Regions from separate parts of the Homo sapiens genome. Here regions 1 and 2 are each linked to region 3. Evidence: promoter capture Hi-C in 16 types of primary human blood cells and fetal thymus (Javierre and others, 2016). All regions are on one chromosome and are shown on one strand. Each heading gives the region's core, a stretch centred on a gene start or on the middle of the fragment in contact. The rest is flanking DNA. Distances are from core to core; before and after follow the strand shown. Region 1 has its middle 9.0 kb from the start of M6PR. Region 2 overlaps LINC02446 (long intergenic non-protein coding RNA 2446). Region 3 holds the start of CLECL1 (C-type lectin like 1).

What was found. Contacts are between HindIII fragments. The CHiCAGO score rates a contact against its expected background, and 5 or more counts as called.
Region 1: a contact is called between a fragment that was not itself captured here and the fragment with the promoter of CLECL1 in region 3, in 1 of 17 cell types (activated CD4 T cells). The highest score is 6.6, in activated CD4 T cells.
Region 2: a contact is called between a fragment that was not itself captured here and the fragment with the promoter of CLECL1 in region 3, in 1 of 17 cell types (neutrophils). The highest score is 5.3, in neutrophils.

What each region holds. Positions count from the first base shown.
Region 1 is chr12:8,957,109-8,960,174 of GRCh38, forward strand. It overlaps a transcript of KLRG1 not described here. Among named protein-coding and RNA genes, the nearest start is that of M6PR, 9.0 kb to the left of the region's middle. The HindIII fragment of the contact is 4,249 bases long and covers 1-3,066 here.
Region 2 is chr12:10,561,441-10,564,540 of GRCh38, forward strand. The region is part of intron 1 of LINC02446 (long intergenic non-protein coding RNA 2446); the gene reads left to right. Among named protein-coding and RNA genes, the nearest start is that of LINC02446, 9.6 kb to the left of the region's middle. The HindIII fragment of the contact is 2,885 bases long and covers 143-3,027 here.
Region 3 is chr12:9,731,741-9,734,827 of GRCh38, forward strand. It overlaps CLECL1 (C-type lectin like 1), which reads right to left and starts at 1,357. Exons shown (of 2, transcript NM_001441815.1): 1 at 1,209-1,357. The coding sequence starts at 1,290. The HindIII fragment of the contact is 6,540 bases long and covers 1-3,087 here.

The DNA of each region.
Region 1 (3,066 bases), core at 91-2,590, 770 kb before region 3:
TTCCTTTTGCATTTGTTTGATTTCTTTCACTGTAATATCTGTGAACTTGTATGTATCAGTAGTAGGTTTTGTTTTGTGTTTTGGTGGGGTAGTATTACATTTTATGAATACAGTAGCCCTCCCTTCTCCTCAGGGGACATGTTCCAAGGCCCCTGCTGTAGACAGCATCTAACCCAGTTGCCTTCAATGAGAATATGTTTCTGTTCATATCTTCCACCCACAAATTTAATGCCTTTTCTGTCTTAACGAAGCACTTACCGTGGCCCATGGCAGTAACTTCTGCAGTTTGAGTTGCAACAGCAAAACTAGCACACATTCTTTTCCCTTCTTCACAATTTAACAGATAGAGGATTTATTCTTACCATAGATGTTAGCAACCTCGGAATACTTGTTTTGTTTTTTGTTTGTTTGTTTGTTTTGTTTTGTTTTTTTGTTTTTTGTTTTTTTTTAGTAAGTCAAGAACCTTCACCTTTTTATTTAAAGGAAGCACTTTACACTTCTCTTTGGCATGTCTGCATAGCCAGCATTACTACTCTTGCGCTTTGTGGCCATTATTAAGTAAAATAAGAGTTACTTGCACTGCAGTACTGTGGCAGTCAATCTGATAACTGAGAGGGACACTAACGGGCAGGGAGTGTCCCCAGCGTGTTTCCACTGGATGAAGGGGTGATTTATGTCCCAGGTGGGATGGAGCAGGACAGTGCAAGATTTTATCACAGTACTCAGAACAGCATGCAATGTAAAACTTATGAGTAGTTTATTTCTGGAATTTTTCATCTGATATTTTCAGACCTCGGTTGACTACTGGTAACTGAAATTGTAGAAAGCACACCTGCAGATAAGGGTGGGGAACTATCGTATTTCTCATCTTATTCATTCCCTTTTGATGGGCGTTTGGGTTCTATCTGTATTTTCTTCTAAGAAGCCTTATAGTTTTATGTTTATGTCTGTAATTTATTTTTAAATTTTTTTAGAGACAGGCTCTTGCTATAGTACCCAGGCTGGTCTCAAACTCCTGGCCTCAAGCTCTTCTCCCAACATGGCCTCCCAAAGTGTTGGGATTACAAGCATGAACCAGTGTGCCCGGTCTGTGATCTATTTTGAGTTAATTTTTGTGTATAGTTGAGGTAGCACTGAGGTTCCTTTTTTTCCCCATATGGATATATAATGACTTCCTATAACATTGTTTGACTATTTTTCCTCTCTTAATTGCGTCAGAGCTTTGTTGAGAATCAGTTGATTGTATAAATGTAGTTCTGTTTCTGGACTTAATTCTGTTTAGTTGATATCTTTATTATTAAGCTAATAACACACTCCTGATTCTTCTAGTTTTATATTAAGTCTTGAAGAAAGGTATTATAAGTCTTTCTTCTCTTTTCAAGATTGTTTTGGCTATTCTAGGTCCTTTGCATTTCCATATACACTTTAAAAGCAACCTGTCAATTTCTGTTAAAAAATCCTGCTGGGGCAAGGCATAGTGGCTCACGTGTGTAATCTCAGCACTTTGGGAGGCTGAGATGGGAGGATCACTTGGGCTCAGGATTTCAAACCAGCTTGGGCAACATGGTGAGACTCTGTCTCTACAAAAAAACCTAAGAATTAGCTGAGCGTGGTGGCTTGTGCCTATGGTCCCAGCTACTTGGGAGGCTAAAGTGGGAGGATCGCTTGAGCCCAGGAGGTCAAGGCTTCAGAGAGCCGTGGTTGCACCACTGCACTCCAGCCTGGACAACAGAGTGATACCCTGTATCAAAAAAAAAAAAAAATCCTGCTGGGGTTACAATTGGGGTTGATATGAATCTGTAGATAAATTTGGGGAAAATTGACATCTTAATGTTGAGTCTTATAATTCATGAATATGAAACCACCTTTGCAGAACTATAAGTAATGAGAGAAGTCTAATATGGTTGACTCCATCTTGCTTCCAACCTCTCAAGTTAAATTGTTTTTTTGTCCATTCTAATGTGGGGGCCAAGATAACTATAAGAGGAATTTAGTTTACAGTTAAAACCACATTCATAAAACAAAGTTAAAATTATGGTAGGGGCTTGAACTTTGCTGAAGAATAGACATAGTTGAACAATGACCCGCCATTACTTAGCTTGTTTTTGTTATATAAGTTGCTTACTGCCCCAGAGTCTTGTATCTGGGGTCGCAAGATTTAGAGCTTCTCCAACTTCTCCTGTAGGTAATATTACTATTGTAAAACCTGAAGAACTGGTCTTTGAGACATTTTTCAGATTTAGCATTTCAGGAGACCAAGAGATGCCACTTCGTCCTGAGACCGCTTCCCAGGAAATGACCTGGCTGTGTGAAAATGGTTTTAGACACCCCTGCAATTTCATCCCCAGCCAATCCGTTGTTTCAGTTCTCCAGCCCCCTGCCTGCCAAAGTAGTAGTTAAAAAACTCTAGCCTCTGAACTCTTGGGGGGATGAGTTTGAAAAGTGTCTGTCGTTCTCCTCACTTGGCTGGCCCTGCAATTATTAAACTCTTTGCTGCAACACCTGCTGTTCTCATTGTTTTTTTCAGGGCAGCAGGCAAGAAGAACCCCTCGGGCTATGACAAATAGGGTACAACTCTATTTATGTAGGCCTTAATTTTTTTCAGCAATGTTTTACAGTTTTCAGTGTAGAGGACTTACGTGTCTTTCGTTACATTTGTCCTGAAGTGCTTTATTTTTTGATGCTTTTATAACTGAAGTTATTGTGAAAAATTTATTTTGTGAATGTTTACTGGTAGTATGTAGAAACACAATTGGTTTTTGTATTTGTAACTGTATTCTGTTAGTTTGCCACTTATTTTGGCAGTTGCTTTTTAGATTTGTTAGGATTTTATATTTAGACAATGAATTTGTCTGCTAGTTTAATATCTATTTTCAGACTTCTGGATTCTGTTCATGATGGTATAACTGGGACTGGATTTATTCTTCTATCTTAAACAACTGGCAAACTGGGAAAATATATGGAACAATGGCTTCCTGATATTGGACAACAGGTAACACAAGACAGTGATTCCTGAGAGGAGGGGAATAAGTTAGGCGAGCCCCACAATTCCCCCTACTTAATGCA
Region 2 (3,100 bases), core at 335-2,834, 830 kb after region 3:
CTAGCCTCAAACAATCTTCCCACATTGGCCTCTCAAAGTGCTGAGATTATAGGCATGAACCACCATGCCTGGCTGAATGAATGCATATTTTTATGGTTTAACATAGTAGAAGACAAACAATTTTAAATTATAAGTACTAAAAAGCTTTTAATTTATTTGACACAGAGTCTTGCTCTGTGGCCCAGGCTGGAGTGCAATGGTGCCTTCTTAGCTCACTGCAATCTCAGCCTCCCAAATTGAAGGGATTCTGCTGCCTCAGCCTCCTGAGTAAGCTGGGACTACAGGTGTGAGCCACCACACACAGCTAACTTTAGTATTTTTTGGTAGAGATGGGGTTTCATCATGTTGGCCAGGCTAGTCTCAAACTCCTGATATCAGGTGATCCACCTGCCTCAGCCTCCCAAAGGGCTGGGATTACAGGAGTGAGCCACCATGCCCAGCCCTAAAAAACTAATGTTATGTTATTGTTAACTTGATTTTTTCTTATTAACATATGATGTTCCAAGGAGTCATTGTTAAAAATTGGAGTAACAAGGAGAAATATGAAGAGAGAAAAACACTTCCTTATAAAATTACATTAATATGTTTCCTTTCTATAATTTCTATGCAACATACTGGGAATCACACATTAGTTTACAACCCAATTCATAAATTAGCATTATGCCAGAAGCATTTCTCATGTCATTGAATACTTCATAAGTCATTTGAAAGTGTGTATGTTTTTTAATTGTATGATTGTATCATATATACTAACCCTTTCATTATTGTTGGACCCAAGATTTTACCTGGTATTTGACAATTCCAATAATGCTAAGGTAAAATCTTGAGTGTGTACCATTTTGTCCACATTATTTTCTGAAGATAGATTTCTAGTAGACTCATTGGCTCAAAAAGTACTACCATTTTTTAAGGTTATCAATATATTTTGCTAAATTTGTGTGCAGTAGTTATCTACTAACATTTGCTACAGCAGTTTATGAGAATATAGTTATTACTTCATTCTGACCAGCAAGACTAATTTTCAAATAAGCCTTGATTTTAGAGCTTGGTTTATGTGGTGATGCCATCTGGTGGCCTAGTACAAAATTACAGAATCAGAAGTGAAAAACCTTTTGAAAACTGTAATGAGCAAAATTAAATTTATAAGGTGATGGCAAATAGCACAAGTCTTATACGTTGTCAGAAAGCATTCTTGCTGTTTGGATTTCTAAAAATTATCAGGAGCCATGTAAAATGAAGATTACAAACTCAAACAATGCTCATTCATTCATCTCTTCAACCTGAGTTTTTGGAGTACCTACCACATGGTAGTACTATTCCCTGCTGATGAAAAAGATGAAGTCTCCATGCATGATTTCCAGGAATGTGTAGTTTAATGGGGATACATAATGCAAATTTACCACTATAAATTTTACCAAAGGCTTTCACAAGTGGTGACTAATATTTACTAATATTTGTCATTTGAATCATTTTTATCAAATGTATGATATGTAATTGTGGTTGACTTTCTCTAAAATAACTCCAGTCATCATTCCACTTCTTGGTATTCATGCCATTGTATAATCTTCTTCCCAGAGTGTGTGCTCAAGTTGGCATCTCTGTTTCTCTTTCTCTCCCTCTTTCTCTCCCACTCCCCTCTCCCACATACACGTCCCCAGCAGAAAACAGAATAACAAACTGCCATGAAGTGAGTAGCTCTATGGAGAGGTCTATGAGGCAAGGCATTGACATTTCTCCTGTTAACAGTGAGTGAGGACCTCACACCAGCCAACAGCATGTGCATGAGGCTGCATATGAGTCTGCCCCAACTGAGCCTTCAGATGACTGTAGCCCTCACCCACACCCCAAAGGCATCCTTGTGAGAAACTCTAAGTCAGAGTCACCCATGGCTGGATTCCTGACCCAAAAAAAGCATAAGTTGTGGGATAATTTAGTAATTTGTTACACACAAATAGTTAACTAATTAACTAATAAAAAGAATTTGAGCCTGGCCTGGTGGCTCATGCCTGTAATCCCAGCATTTTGGGAGGCTGAGGTGGACGGATCACTTGAGGACAGGAGTTCAAAGATCAGCCTAGCCAACATGGTGAAACCCCATCTCTACTAAAAATACAGAAATTAGCCAGGCATGGTGGCCCATGCCTGTAATCCCAGCTACTCAGGAGACTGAGGCAGGAGAATCACTTGAAGTCGGGAGGTGGAGGCTGCAGTGAACCAAGATCGCCCATTGCACTCCAGCCTGGGTGACAGAGCAAGAAACCCTGTCTTAAAAAAATAAAAAAAAGAAAGAAAGCTATTCAAACATTTGAATAGTGATTTCAACATAATTACTCAAGTCCTATACAAAATTACTTAAGTCCTATACAAATTTAAACTACAATTACAGATTTAGTTAAGCTAAGTCTTTTGAGCACCTCAAACACCTTAAGTAGCAAATATACCCAAAGAAAATTATTACAAAACCTATTGCTTACTCTTAAACCTATCCTAAAATATAACAATAGTTTTTAAACTTCATTTCTTTTGTTATTCCTATAATTTTTATTCTTCTCTAAGGCTATAATTCCACTTGATAACTTCCATTAGTTGTATTAATGCATCCTTTTACATCTTTCTGGGCTTGTAGTGATCTCCCTAGACCAATAAGCAAAATATTTCAGTAAATGGCTGGTCAAGCAACTGATTTTTAGTCAGTTTGGGACCCGTTTGTTTTTGCCACGATAATTAACTCCAGCTGCAGGCCATGAAGTCATCTCCTATTTTAGAGTTAAACTTCTTTTGTTATAAAAATAAGACATTTCAAATTCTCATCTTTCACATGTTTTTGGATTTTTATAACCTAATATCTCCATCATAAATGATACGTTTCAAGTCTCAACCAACATTTCATTATGTATTATCCTATCTCTATTATATACTGATATTTTATGTTAGGATTATTACAAATTATGTATGCTTTATTGTATTATTTAAGGGCCACTTAGAAATTCTATATCCTAGGAAAAGAGAAATGAAAGTTTTGTAGTAAGCTTCCTTTTCATTATTATTATTATTTTTGAATTATACTTTAAGTTCTGGGATACATGTGCAGAACGTGCAG
Region 3 (3,087 bases), core at 107-2,606:
ATTAAAAGATGTTGCCCCACATCCCTAAACTGGGAAAAGAATAAGGTTTTATTTATAAAAGTTCAAACCATAGACAGAAAGGCAATTAAACCCTGGAATGCGGAATCAAAAATATTGGTTTTGTTGCTTAAACTGAGTAAAATAACCTCTAGAAAAAGAAACTAACTACAGGACATTTTTGAAGCATAGGGGAATGACAGTGCAGTTCTAGTCCATGTTATTTTTCAAATTATGTTTCACTATTTCATAGGAAGTGAAAGTGCCTAAGCTGGAAGAAAAGAAAGCAAGTTAGCCTCTGCTGGGTAAAATAGAGAGGTAAGGTTTAAAATAAGAAACAAGATGCTTTTACAACCAGAAAAGGACACACACTAGATTCCTTTGATAACTATAAACTTTTGAAAATATAAAGAAGAAATACATTCCTTGGAAATACGAACAAAGTAGCAGATTCATTCCACAAGGGCAAATACAAAGGAGGAACTTTAAATTATTTAAAACACCTACATAAACTCTATGCTACAAAAATTCTTACCCTAGAGCAGAGAATGGAAATGTAACAAGACAGAGAAATTTCCTTAATACTTCAAAGAATAGAAAAGACACTGGCTATGAAAATCTATAATTTTTGAGGGGGTTTGGTGATGAAGGCACCATGTTAAGTTTAGGCATATGCTTATCGCCTCTGATTCCAGAAATATTCAATTACCTAGTCATTAATTCTAGACTTTATAAAATTAAATCTAACGTTTCATGTTTTCTTAAGTTTACATTTTTATCCTATTGATATTGTAAAAGAATAAATAACAATATGAGTAAATTGCCACAGGTATTTTTCCCAGTGGAGATGAATTTATCACATTATGTTAAAAGGTCAGATTTGATTGAGAGTGAGCAAAGCTGTGGAGCAGAAAGGCGTGATCCCGCTAGAAGTTGCTGTGTGAATATAAACATTCATCACGAGAAATCAAGAAATAGAAAGGCTATGAAAACAGAAGCAAAGTTCTACATATTAAAACCAAAGTGGCAATTTATTTTATGAACAGACATTTTGCTTCATTAAAAACATTCGCTCTTATTCTTAGCATTCAATGAATTTTGCTTTGAATCCAATCTCCTCTTTTCAGTTTGGCAATTAGATACATAAGAAAGAAATAAAGGAGATAACTAGTAAAATCTTAATTCTCAAAGGCACCCTAAATCCAGCTTACCAGATCTCTGAAGTGGAAACGCGAGTTCTAACGGGGAAGTCCGAACAGTTTTGATGTCAGCGTAGACTACATCTCCAGCCATTGCACAGATCAAAAAGAGAGAGAAGACCACAAATGATGTCCCACTGAAGGGACAATCATATTTCTGCAAAGAAACTTCTGATAAGTAAATTGAGATGGCAAATTTCCTTCTGCTCCCCAAGTGGGTGGTGGACTTCCTCCATGAATAAATGACAAAACCAATGTGTTCAGTCTTACTAATCAAGGTAGCAGATTTCTCGAATACTTGTATGACATGGAAGAAATTACTAACCATACAGTAGGTTCTCGTTTTTCAGTTAGTTTTCTGCCTAAACTTGAAATGCTTTTAACTTTTATTAATACCACAGAAGATATCTCACCATTTTCTCCTATAGACCACTTCCTCTTTTAGTTCAGGCATATATTCTCTGGCGGAAACTCTGAATTTCCAGCATCTTCTCCAAAGTAGGATAGCTATTTGGGAAACAGAACAAGAAAAAGAAGGGATTTTATTACGAAAGTTACAGAAAGGGGCCCTATGTCTTTTATCCTCCTCTCTAAATGCATTGTATTGTCTAGATAATACCTTAAAAATTCTGAAAGCTATTTGCTTTCCTGTATGCTTTATAATATTAACATTAAACTGAGGTAAAACATGAATTATGCAGAGGACTTCTGAACTAAAAAATATATATTTAAGAAACAGAAATAACTCTGTTAAAATAATTCAAGGTAATGACATAAAAGAAAAAAATCTAATTTTAAAATGAGGTGTTCAGAAATTTACTATCGAATACAACATAGCAAACATAGATTTTATCTCCTATTTCTTCTAAAATTCCACTAAAATTGAATTAAGTGAATAAAAATTTGTTAGTCTAAAACAATAACACAAAGGCTCAGGGTCCTATTAGTTGATGAAAAATTTCAACTAATTCCTGGAAAATGGAGAGTAGATGGAGATGTGATCATTGATGAAGAAGTAAAATCAGAGAAAAATGCAGCCAACACCATACAGAGGGAAATAATGGAGGAGAGCCTAGCTACCTGTGAAACCGTCATAGGACATAGAAATGTCAGATATGAAAAATGGCAGGATCCATTAGCTTATGACTAGTAGATTAACTGGAAATCTGCATATGGAAAAACTGGTTTTTTCAATACCCACTCAAGTGCATTCTGCAGAATTAATCTAAACTGCAGTCACCCCATCCCTACCCCTCATCCAAGAAATTTAACTTAGGTTAATTAAATAACTAGAGAACAGATCCTGGCTTTGTGGCATTTAGGGATCCCTCCTATAAAGACCAACTTCTGACCCTGGATGAGGCTTGAGCACCGACCTCTGTCTCTTAAGACTGCATGACACTCTCTCCCTTTTCTGGGCTGTTCCAACTGTTTGTATGTGACTAGACAATACCTACTACATACATGAAAAACTGACTTTTAGAGGTTTTATTATCTGCAGGTGGTTGCATAACCAATAATTTTTTTTTTTTTGAGACGGAGTCTCACTCTGTCACCCAGGCTGGAGTGCAGTGGCGCGATCTCGGCTCACTGCAAGCTCTGCCTCCCGGGTTCATGCCATTCTCCTGCCTCAGCCTCCCGAGTAGCTGGGACTACAGGCGCCCGCCACCACGCCCGGCTAATATTTTGTATTTTTAGTAGAGACGAGTTTCACGGTGGTCTCGATCTCCTGACCTCGTGATCTGCCCGCCTCAGCCTCCCAAAGGCATAACCAGTACATTTTAAGAGTGATAACTGAGTTCTAAGTCCATGCCATAATTCAACTATGCTGTCTAGATTTTGAGGGTAAGACTCACATTTTATTATTTTTATTTTCATCACTTAGTTTTGT